Regions from separate parts of the Homo sapiens genome. Here region 1 is linked to region 2. Evidence: promoter capture Hi-C in 16 types of primary human blood cells and fetal thymus (Javierre and others, 2016). All regions are on one chromosome and are shown on one strand. Each heading gives the region's core, a stretch centred on a gene start or on the middle of the fragment in contact. The rest is flanking DNA. Distances are from core to core; before and after follow the strand shown. Region 1 has its middle 34 kb from the start of SYK. Region 2 holds the start of SECISBP2 (SECIS binding protein 2).

Region 1 (4,490 bases), core at 177-2,676, 1.5 Mb before region 2:
ATTAAAAGTATGTATAAATATAACTGGAGAACTGCCTCTGAACTGCTACTCAAACACACGGCCTTTGAGGTATCCTGGTTCTGCAGAGGCAGTCACAGAGCTGTAACACTGTTGCCCCAATAAAAGCCATTTTTTTCTACCACCAGCTCATTCTTGAAACCTTTCCTGAGTGAAGCCAACAATTTTCCCAGGCTAAGCCCCAGTTTTGGGACTGGCCTGCCCTGCATCAAGTGGCATTCCTAGCTGCTCTCACAGAAGGCCTATGCCCTCCCTGGAGCCTCCTCAGTGCCGCCGTTCTGAGGAGGGTCCTGCCAGTTCTCTAACAAAGGATTCCATCCCAAGGTCATCAGGCACCTCTCCCCCTTATCCAGCTAGCTCCAGCCTATACTTCTTACTGCTCAAAAGAGTAAGCCCAACCAATACCTCCAGAAGTGGACCCCATATCAGCCCCTAAAAGTCAAACCTGTGTCCCTTGCAAGAAGTAGCTGATGAAAATTGGGGAGCACTTAGAGTACATGTGCTATTTTCTATGTCTGATTTGGCTGTATTTAACAAAAAAAATTTGGCTAGTTTTCAGAGGATCCAGAAAAGTTTATAGAGGAGTTTTTTAAGTTGACCATGTTCTTTAATTTAACTTGTCATGACTTGCAAGTATTATCATTTACTTGCTGTGCTATGGAAGAAATGCAGTGGGAAACGGGTGTGGTTTAGCCAATGAGTTATGACAAGGTTAGAGAAATAACTCAGGGAAAATATGAAAGTCCCACTCTGTTTCAGGGTCGTTTGGTTGAGGCACTCAAGAAATATACTAACACAGATCCAGACTCCTCAGAAAGGCAGGCTCTCCTGGGTATGCATTTTATTACTCAATCTTCCCCTGACATCAGGAAAATGCTACAAAAAGCAGCAGCAAGGGGGTCTCACACCCCCATAATCCAACTCCTAAAGACGGTTTTTGGAGTTAAGAACAAAAGTGACAAAGGAGAAGAAGAGGCAAAACCATAAGAAATAGCCAAAAAGTGCAATTATTAGCATAAGCTTTAAGCCCTCTTCCTCCTCAGGGTTACCCATCCCAAGAAAGTGTCACAAGATCAGTGTCTGGAATGCCCAGATGAGAGCCCCAAACTGACTGGCCCCTGGGTCAGAATCAATGTGCCTACTATGAACAAAAGGGCTGTTGACAATGAGACTGTCCTAACTGTCCCTACTGACAGAGAGAAAAAACTCTCCATCAATTCTAGAGCTAACCTTCTTCCACTAGCCCCAATGAGCTGCTTTGCTCAAGTAAGTTTACTAGGGATCTTAGATCCTTTACCTGACAAACAGCTTCCTGCAGTGGCAGACTAGAGGCTGCCTGAACATTTTTCTTCAGTGTTCCACTGCTGGGTGAGCTCTCCAGCAGCTCAGAGACTCAGGTCTCCCCTTCAGTAACACAGTTTGCCCCCTCCTTTCCTTATTGGCTGCTACAGGATCCCCTTCCCTGCCTCTTCCTGTCTTCCATGCCTATTGGGGCAAATAAAGTTTGGTCAGGTAGACAGGTCCCAGTTTTGTAAATAACTTGGATCCTGTTATCCTGCATAGGCCCTTTGTTTGAAGTGTTTGTGTGTATAGACAGGTATTGTGGCATGTCCTGTGTCTAGCATGCTATCAGATTGGCTTATAAATAAAAGAGCAAGAATAAATTAAACATGTAAGTCTAGTCTGAACTTGTTAGTTTGAAAATAATATAGTGCCTTTTACAATTTAACTTTAAGGTAAACCACTGTTGTTTGTAGGTTTTGAACTGGTTAAAATGGCTTTAAATAGCAAGCTTTTTGTGTAGTTGAAAACCTTAAAATTGTGAAATGGTTCTTATCTACAGAATGCCAATGTCTGTTGGGAAGTTCAGGATTTCTTGCCTCCTAGGTTTATATAAAATGTGCCAGGGAAAATATATTCTTTATTGGGAAAAGGAGTAATTTTTGTCAAATTCAGAAGTCATTGAAGGTGAGGTTCAAATTATGAAGCAACCATGAGTGGAAAAAAAAGAGATAGAAAGAAATCTCTAGATAAAAAATGTATTTTTTTTTGCAAGGAAGGATATAAAGAAAGAGTAATTTTGTATAAAAAGATATTCTACAGTAAACTCTTGTCCTAGAGGAAAATGAATGGTTATTTAAGAAAGAGGTAGTATAGGACAAGTCAAAATGTCCAAGCATGTGGTAGATGGTATATGTAAGTTGTGATAAGGTTCATAAAGGGGAATTTATGAAAGGAATTTTATGTGTGATTAAGCTAGCTGTAATTAAAAGAAAATTGTATATAATAGACTTTCTAAAAATAGTCTCCATGTCAAACCAAATTTTCTTACAGTATTAATTTGCTAAATTACCCAAAATTTTGCTTTTCGATTTCATATTCTATTTCTTTTAAAAGCCTCTTGCTTCTCAGAGTCATATAACTGTGTCCTTTAGCCTTTTCATCAGCTCCTGTGACATTTTCTCTTCTGGTTCTGAGTGTTATTGTGGCCTGATACTAAAGTGTTTTGTCTCAGAGGTCTATAAAAGCTGTGTTTTTCTCCAATATAACTTGATTCTATACTCTTGGTTTTTCTTGATGTTTCTAAATTTTCAGTGTAACCAGAAAACTTTCTCAGTTCCCCTGCTACACTCATAATCTTAAATACACTTTTCCTGCATCTGATTAAATTCAAGTATTATGTTTTTCTTCATCAAACTCAACTTTCAGGTTATTTAAGTGGAGTTCCCATATGGAGAGGTAATCACAGTGCCAAGGATATTTAACTTTGGATAAATAAGTAACTATTGCTTACAATAACCTGTAGTTCCACACTGATCAAATATTTTGGGCCTTTAACCCCTTTGACAAATGCCCTTAGAATTGAATCCTAGTTTAAATCTCTTGCTTGTTGCTGGAGTTTATCAAAGCTATAAAAATTAATCACTGCAATGTTATAAAATCTTTTTACAGCTTCCAGTCAGGTCATGAACTCCAGTATCACTACCTCCAGCCCTCTGACAAGTTCCTTATCAGGTGCTATTAACTAATCCATGTGCTGTTAAATTACAGGGCTTTTATTCTTGGGTATGCATAGCTCATCTAGAGATGGCACCAATTCCTGCCAGTATCTAATATCAAACTCAAGTTAACCAAAGCCTTGTCTTTAAACCTGGGCAAAGGAGACAATCAAAGTAAACTGCTTTCATGAGACAAGAGAAAAGCTTGTATTCATTTAATAATCTTGCCTCTAACTGAATTAATATAACTTATTCTATGCCTTGACACCAAATAATTTAAATGTTTAGCTACCTGTGAGCTTTCTTTATTGTCATTCTCAAAACTAGGCAGGGCTTATGAACTTTTTGCTTGAAACATTGCTAATTCTCTGTTTTGTTTTACATCTAGAATTTAAAATGATTTAATTCCTTCAGGCCTGGGAACTATAGTGGAATAAGTGGGCATGAAAGACTGCAAGGGCTGGGTTTTGAGGGATAAAATTAATTCAGCCCCTCCAAATCAAAAAAAGGCACACAGATGCCTAAACAAAATGCTTGTGTTTGGTATAGCTAATTGCTACAAGTCAAGATTACAGTAGCTCAGTGCACAGAATGTATAGATAAGTCAGTTTTAAAACCTTATTTTTGGCTTTTAGTTTTTGACTCTTATAGTGCTTAAAATGGTTTTAAGTACCTGCCTACCTCTATTCCCAACTGGCCTAGAATGTTTAATTGACTATGAATCTTTTGATTCTAAGTTTGTTGGCCAAAGGAAATCCCCCTTCCACACACACAAGAAAATTCTAAAACAACTAATTCAGTCCATGACACAAAACAGGGGATTGGAGACACCTCACTATGCCCCCTTTACAATTTAGGCCAGGTTTGCAACACCCTTTAAGAATATAGAAATAAAGTAATGCCTCCTCCCAGAAGACTTAGTCTTACTAAAAACTGAAGAAGAAAAATCCTCCAAGGGATTACAACCAAAACAGAAGGGTGCTTGCCAAGTGTTGCTGAGTACCCTACTCATGTTAAACTCCAGGGAATAACTAGTTGGGTACACCTGTCCAGGATTAAACCTATTTCTTTTGCATTTTATGCAAGGCATAAAATGAGGACACCATGATGACATCTGTGAACCTTTAAAAGACCTCCACTACTTACTTAAAAGAATCAACACTCAGCCAGAAGTGGTAATGTGATGCTGGGAATGGGAACAGGCATGTTAATTTTTCTCTTTTTCCCAACTGCAATACATTTTTTCCATTGCTTTGGCCAACCACGTCTTCCTGGGAAACACCTCTTTTGCAGTTGTTGGGTGTAGAAGCCACTCTAAGGCCCAACCAGATACCATGCTGTCACTGTTAATTCTGTTGGCTCTCTCAATTATCCTGATCCAGTGTGGGTGGGAACATAACTCTGTGGTAAGTATTTCAAAAATTATGGCATCAGGGAATCATCTTTGTGGTTGCTGGATTTTTCATCAACATC
Region 2 (4,158 bases), core at 1,593-4,092:
TCTGATTAGTCTCCACTCATGTTACTGCCAAAATGTTCCTTTAGCCATGTGAATGTTTTCCACCACTATTTTGAGTAACTAAATACCACCTAGCAGATGGCTTTGAGCTCTTGTCACTGAGATATATTTTTGTATTTTGTTATGTGAGACACTCAAGGTAGGGAACAACTCAAGTGAGACCCATGCCAAACTCCCCTTTACAGTGGATGAAATACAGTGGAAAAATAGGGTATTCCTACCAAAGACCAAATTCCAGCATATAAAGGTAGTGTTTCAACTTTCGTCAAAAAAATACAACTTTCAGTATTTCCTAAACACAAAAGACAACTCAATCATTTTCTTATTCATTACAATTCTCATTCTTGCAAATATAATTCTAGAATTTATATACAGTACAAACTATTTTCAATTACATCATGCAGGCACAAATAAAAGGAAACAAGTTAGAATCATATCAAAGAAGAAAAAAGCATTAGGATTCTTAGATTAGAACTACACCTGATGCAAATCTTAAAAACAGATCTACAAATAAATCTACACAATTATGTGAAAGATTAATACTTTTTTTGTCTAAATTCAGCTGCAAGAGGAAGCCATTTTGTAAACCTAGAGAATGAATCCTGAGAAGGAAAAAGAAAATGTAAGGAAAAATGTAAGCCTTCTTTCAACTCAAATTTAGAAGAACTTAAGCCTGAAATGTGTAAAATTCATCTCCATATTAACAGATATAAAGTAAAAAGGTGGAAAGCAAAAGTCAACAATTTCCAAAAAATTATCCACACAGAGGCAGCTATGGTTGCTAGTCCCCTCCCCTTCGCTCAACAAGATTTTAAAATGTTAACCTTAAAAAGGAGGAGTACGTTTATTTGGTCCTTTCTTTGCCCTTCCCTCCACATTTCATCTCCCATTAGATATATGATATATTTTTAAACCATATGAACAAATGAACCTTGAAACGGGATTTTTTTTTTTTTTTTTTTTTTTTTGAGACAGAGTCTCACTCTGTCAGCCAGGCTTGAGTGTAGTGGTGCTATCTTGGCCCACTGCAACCTCTGCCTCCCAGGTTCAAAGGATTCTGCTGCCCCAGTCTCCCGAATACCTGGGATTACAGGTGTCCGCCACCATACCTGATTAATTTTTGTATTTTTGTGGAGACGGAGTTTCACCATGTTGGTCACACTGGTCTTGAACTCCTGACCTCAGGTGATCCACCCACCTCGGCCTCCCAAAGTGCTGGGATTACAGGCGTGAGCCACAGCGCCTGGCCTGAAACTGCATTTCTTATTAACAAATGCAATGCAGTCTCTACTATTTCTTTGCCGAAAATAACAATGAGTATGAAGAAAAAAAAGGGGAGTTAAAGCTTCTGTTTTTGGCACAGGATACAGTTAAGTTGTGCTACTGGCTCAGACTCTTCTTGGTTGAAGAGCATTCTCTCATCATCTGCAGAACTTTAGTGCAGTAACTGCTGAGTATTTGAAAGTCTAATCACCATTAAATCCAAAATGTAAGCCCCTAGGTAAGACTTTTAGAAAGATACATACTCTGTCACTGGTGGTTCCTGAACAAACGGATAGTATGTGGCTGCAGAGCTGGGGAAGACACATGCTTCTGAGGACTCTAACCATGCCACATTGAGCCCGGCAAATCTGGGGACAAATGGTTTGACATCTGCTGATAACTTGATGCCCTGAGGAAAAATATGAGGTTTTGGCCACAAACATTCAGAGATCAAGCAAATATAAACAAACAAAAAGACCCAAGAGGTGTTCCTAATAGCCCCAGAAATGTTCCCGATGTTGTTTAAAAACTTCTGCCTCGTAAAGACAAGAACCTGCTTGCTAACGATTTCTCCCCAATGCTTTTTTTTTTGTAGAAAAGGCAGTAGTTCAAACATTAAAAGTGAAAAATGACAACGAATTCAAGTGGAAATAAAACAACACAGATTATATAGTTTAGATCTTGGAATAAGGGTGTTTTTACCACAGATTCACTTAGAAATAATAGAACTGCACACAGTACAACTACTGCAGTCAAATACACGTGGACTGTTTAACTACAGCACCCAAAACACACTGCAGACGTTTATTTCCATTACATTTTCTTGAAAAAGTTGCACAAAAGCATATGCATTTTACTCATGAACCACTAAGTCTTGCTTTATTGAAATACCAAACCTTGCTTTGCTAGAAAATATTATCACCACGAGCCTTTGAAATTTCAATTCACTAAGATTTCTTTCTTTAGTTTTTAGTGACGTAGTAAGAGATTTACTTTCACCGAGAATTTTATGGGTCTAAAAATGATGCAAGCGATCGCCAGGGCTCCATCTAGTGGTAATGCTGAGTACGTAGAGCGGAGAATGACGTTCAGAAAAACGCAGGATCCTTTAAAACAATCTATCCGTTCCCAAGAGCGCGGGAAGCTCGCCAGAGTCCCCCCGCCCCGACTGCGGGGAGCGCCGGGCTGGGCCGCAGTCACTGCGCTGGGTGACATCGCACCACAGACGCGGCGCTAACTGTGGGCGGGGTCTGTAGCCGCTGACCGCCACCCCAAGGCGGACCCGAGGCGGGGCGCGAAGATCGCGGCCACCCGGTAGGGCGCTCCCGTGCCGTCACCAGCATCCGACCCACGCCCGCTGGACCAGCCCCGTCACCGCCCGGCCGAGCCCCCAGTGCGAGGCAGGCGGACGGACTGAGGCTGCCGAGAGAGCCCCCGTCGGCCCTTACCTCGCTTTCGGGCTCCCGCGGCCCCTCCGACGCCATGCCGCGAGGCGCGGAGGAGGCCGCGTCACGGAGGCCAGCAGCGGGCCGTCGGCTTGCCGGACAGACAAAGCGTTTCCGCCCCCGCAGGCGACGCCAGGAAGTGCGTCACAGCAAAGCGACAGAGCCCGCCCTTTCTTCCGGCCGGAAGTACGCGGCGGCGGCACTGGACCTGCGCGGGCAGCACGTGGAGGCAGTGGGGCGCTTGCGGAAAATGGGGACCCCCAGGAGTCCTCTGGGCTGGGGACCCACCGTAGCTTGCGGGAGTCTTGGATCTGCCTTTTAGTGCTGGGATATCGGAGATAGTCTCCACCAAGGCAGTAGCGACTATAAACAAGAGTTAGGCCGTGATTTACTTTTCTCCCCTGGGCCTCACGAGTCTAGCGTTAGGACGGGATGGGGTAGTCTGGAAAGGCCTCTCGCTGAGGTGACCTTTGAGCAGTCACCTGAAGAGAAAGATTTACTAATAAGGAAACTGAGGAGGCCGAGATTACTCTCACCCCCGCCACTGCATTTCCCTAAAATTTCCCCAAGATTGGTGACTTACAGGAATTGCATACCCTGTAGGTCCTACAAACCTGGAAAGCCTACAAGACTCTTGATGGTATCCTAAATTTCCAGAAACCTTAAGTTTGGAAGTAGCCACAGAAAATAATTTAAAAATCGCTCGGTTTCTTTCAAAAATTAAAAAAAGTGCTAAGATATGGTCAAGAGATGGAATAGTATAATTTTCACGAGAAAAAAAAAGTTCTACACAGAGCAAATTCGTTAAATATTGAGAGAAATGTATAAAGTGCGGCAGGGATAGGAGGTTGACCAAAAGTACAGGGAAGAATGCAGAGTGGATTTCAATAGATGGAGGAGGAACTTTCCTCTCACTCAAAGGCTTGGAGGAAAGTGCAAGTGGATTTAAGGAACAGAAAATGTCAGCAAAACAGGCTATTTGAGGAATGGGGATTAGGTTGAGGCAAATTGTAGGTTTCCTCTGTCCCTTGCACAGACGTTAACTCTACCATTGAATACGAAGTATTTCAAGCAAGTAAGGCAGGTGCAGCTCCAGTTTTTTCAGATTTCTGTCCTGGTGGGTCTCAGTTCACTACACAGCCTCTAGCAGAAGTGATCCTTAGGGTCTGGTCTGGCAGGAATTTATGCTGGAAGTTTAGGGGTAGCTGTCGCCTTCCTTTCAGCACTATTGGGTCTACCCGGAAGTGTAATGAAGTTTACTTGATTTTGTCATGTTTCTGTTGGTTACCCTGGACACAACCTATGGTAGTGGCAGTAGATTTTAGGATGCTGCTAATCACAACCTTCAAAATTTATTGCCCTCATGTGTAAAGACACCCTTTCTTAACCAATGGACCTGATGTATGCTGGCTGCTCATTTAAGATGTTTCTA

What was found. Contacts are between HindIII fragments. The CHiCAGO score rates a contact against its expected background, and 5 or more counts as called.
Region 1: a fragment that was not itself captured here is called in contact with the fragment with the promoter of SECISBP2 in region 2 in 2 of 17 cell types (total B cells and monocytes); the score reaches 6.9 in total B cells.

What each region holds. Positions count from the first base shown.
Region 1 is chr9:90,765,452-90,769,941 of GRCh38, reverse strand. No RefSeq gene overlaps it. Among named protein-coding and RNA genes, the nearest start is that of SYK, 34 kb to the left of the region's middle. The HindIII fragment of the contact is 772 bases long and covers 1,041-1,812 here.
Region 2 is chr9:89,317,184-89,321,341 of GRCh38, reverse strand. SECISBP2 (SECIS binding protein 2) reads right to left here and starts at 2,842. Exons shown (of 17, transcript NM_024077.5): 1 at 2,730-2,842; 2 at 1,545-1,690. The coding sequence starts at 2,765. RefSeq lists a silencer at 2,483-2,802 and an enhancer at 2,973-3,192. The HindIII fragment of the contact is 8,029 bases long and covers 1,366-4,158 here.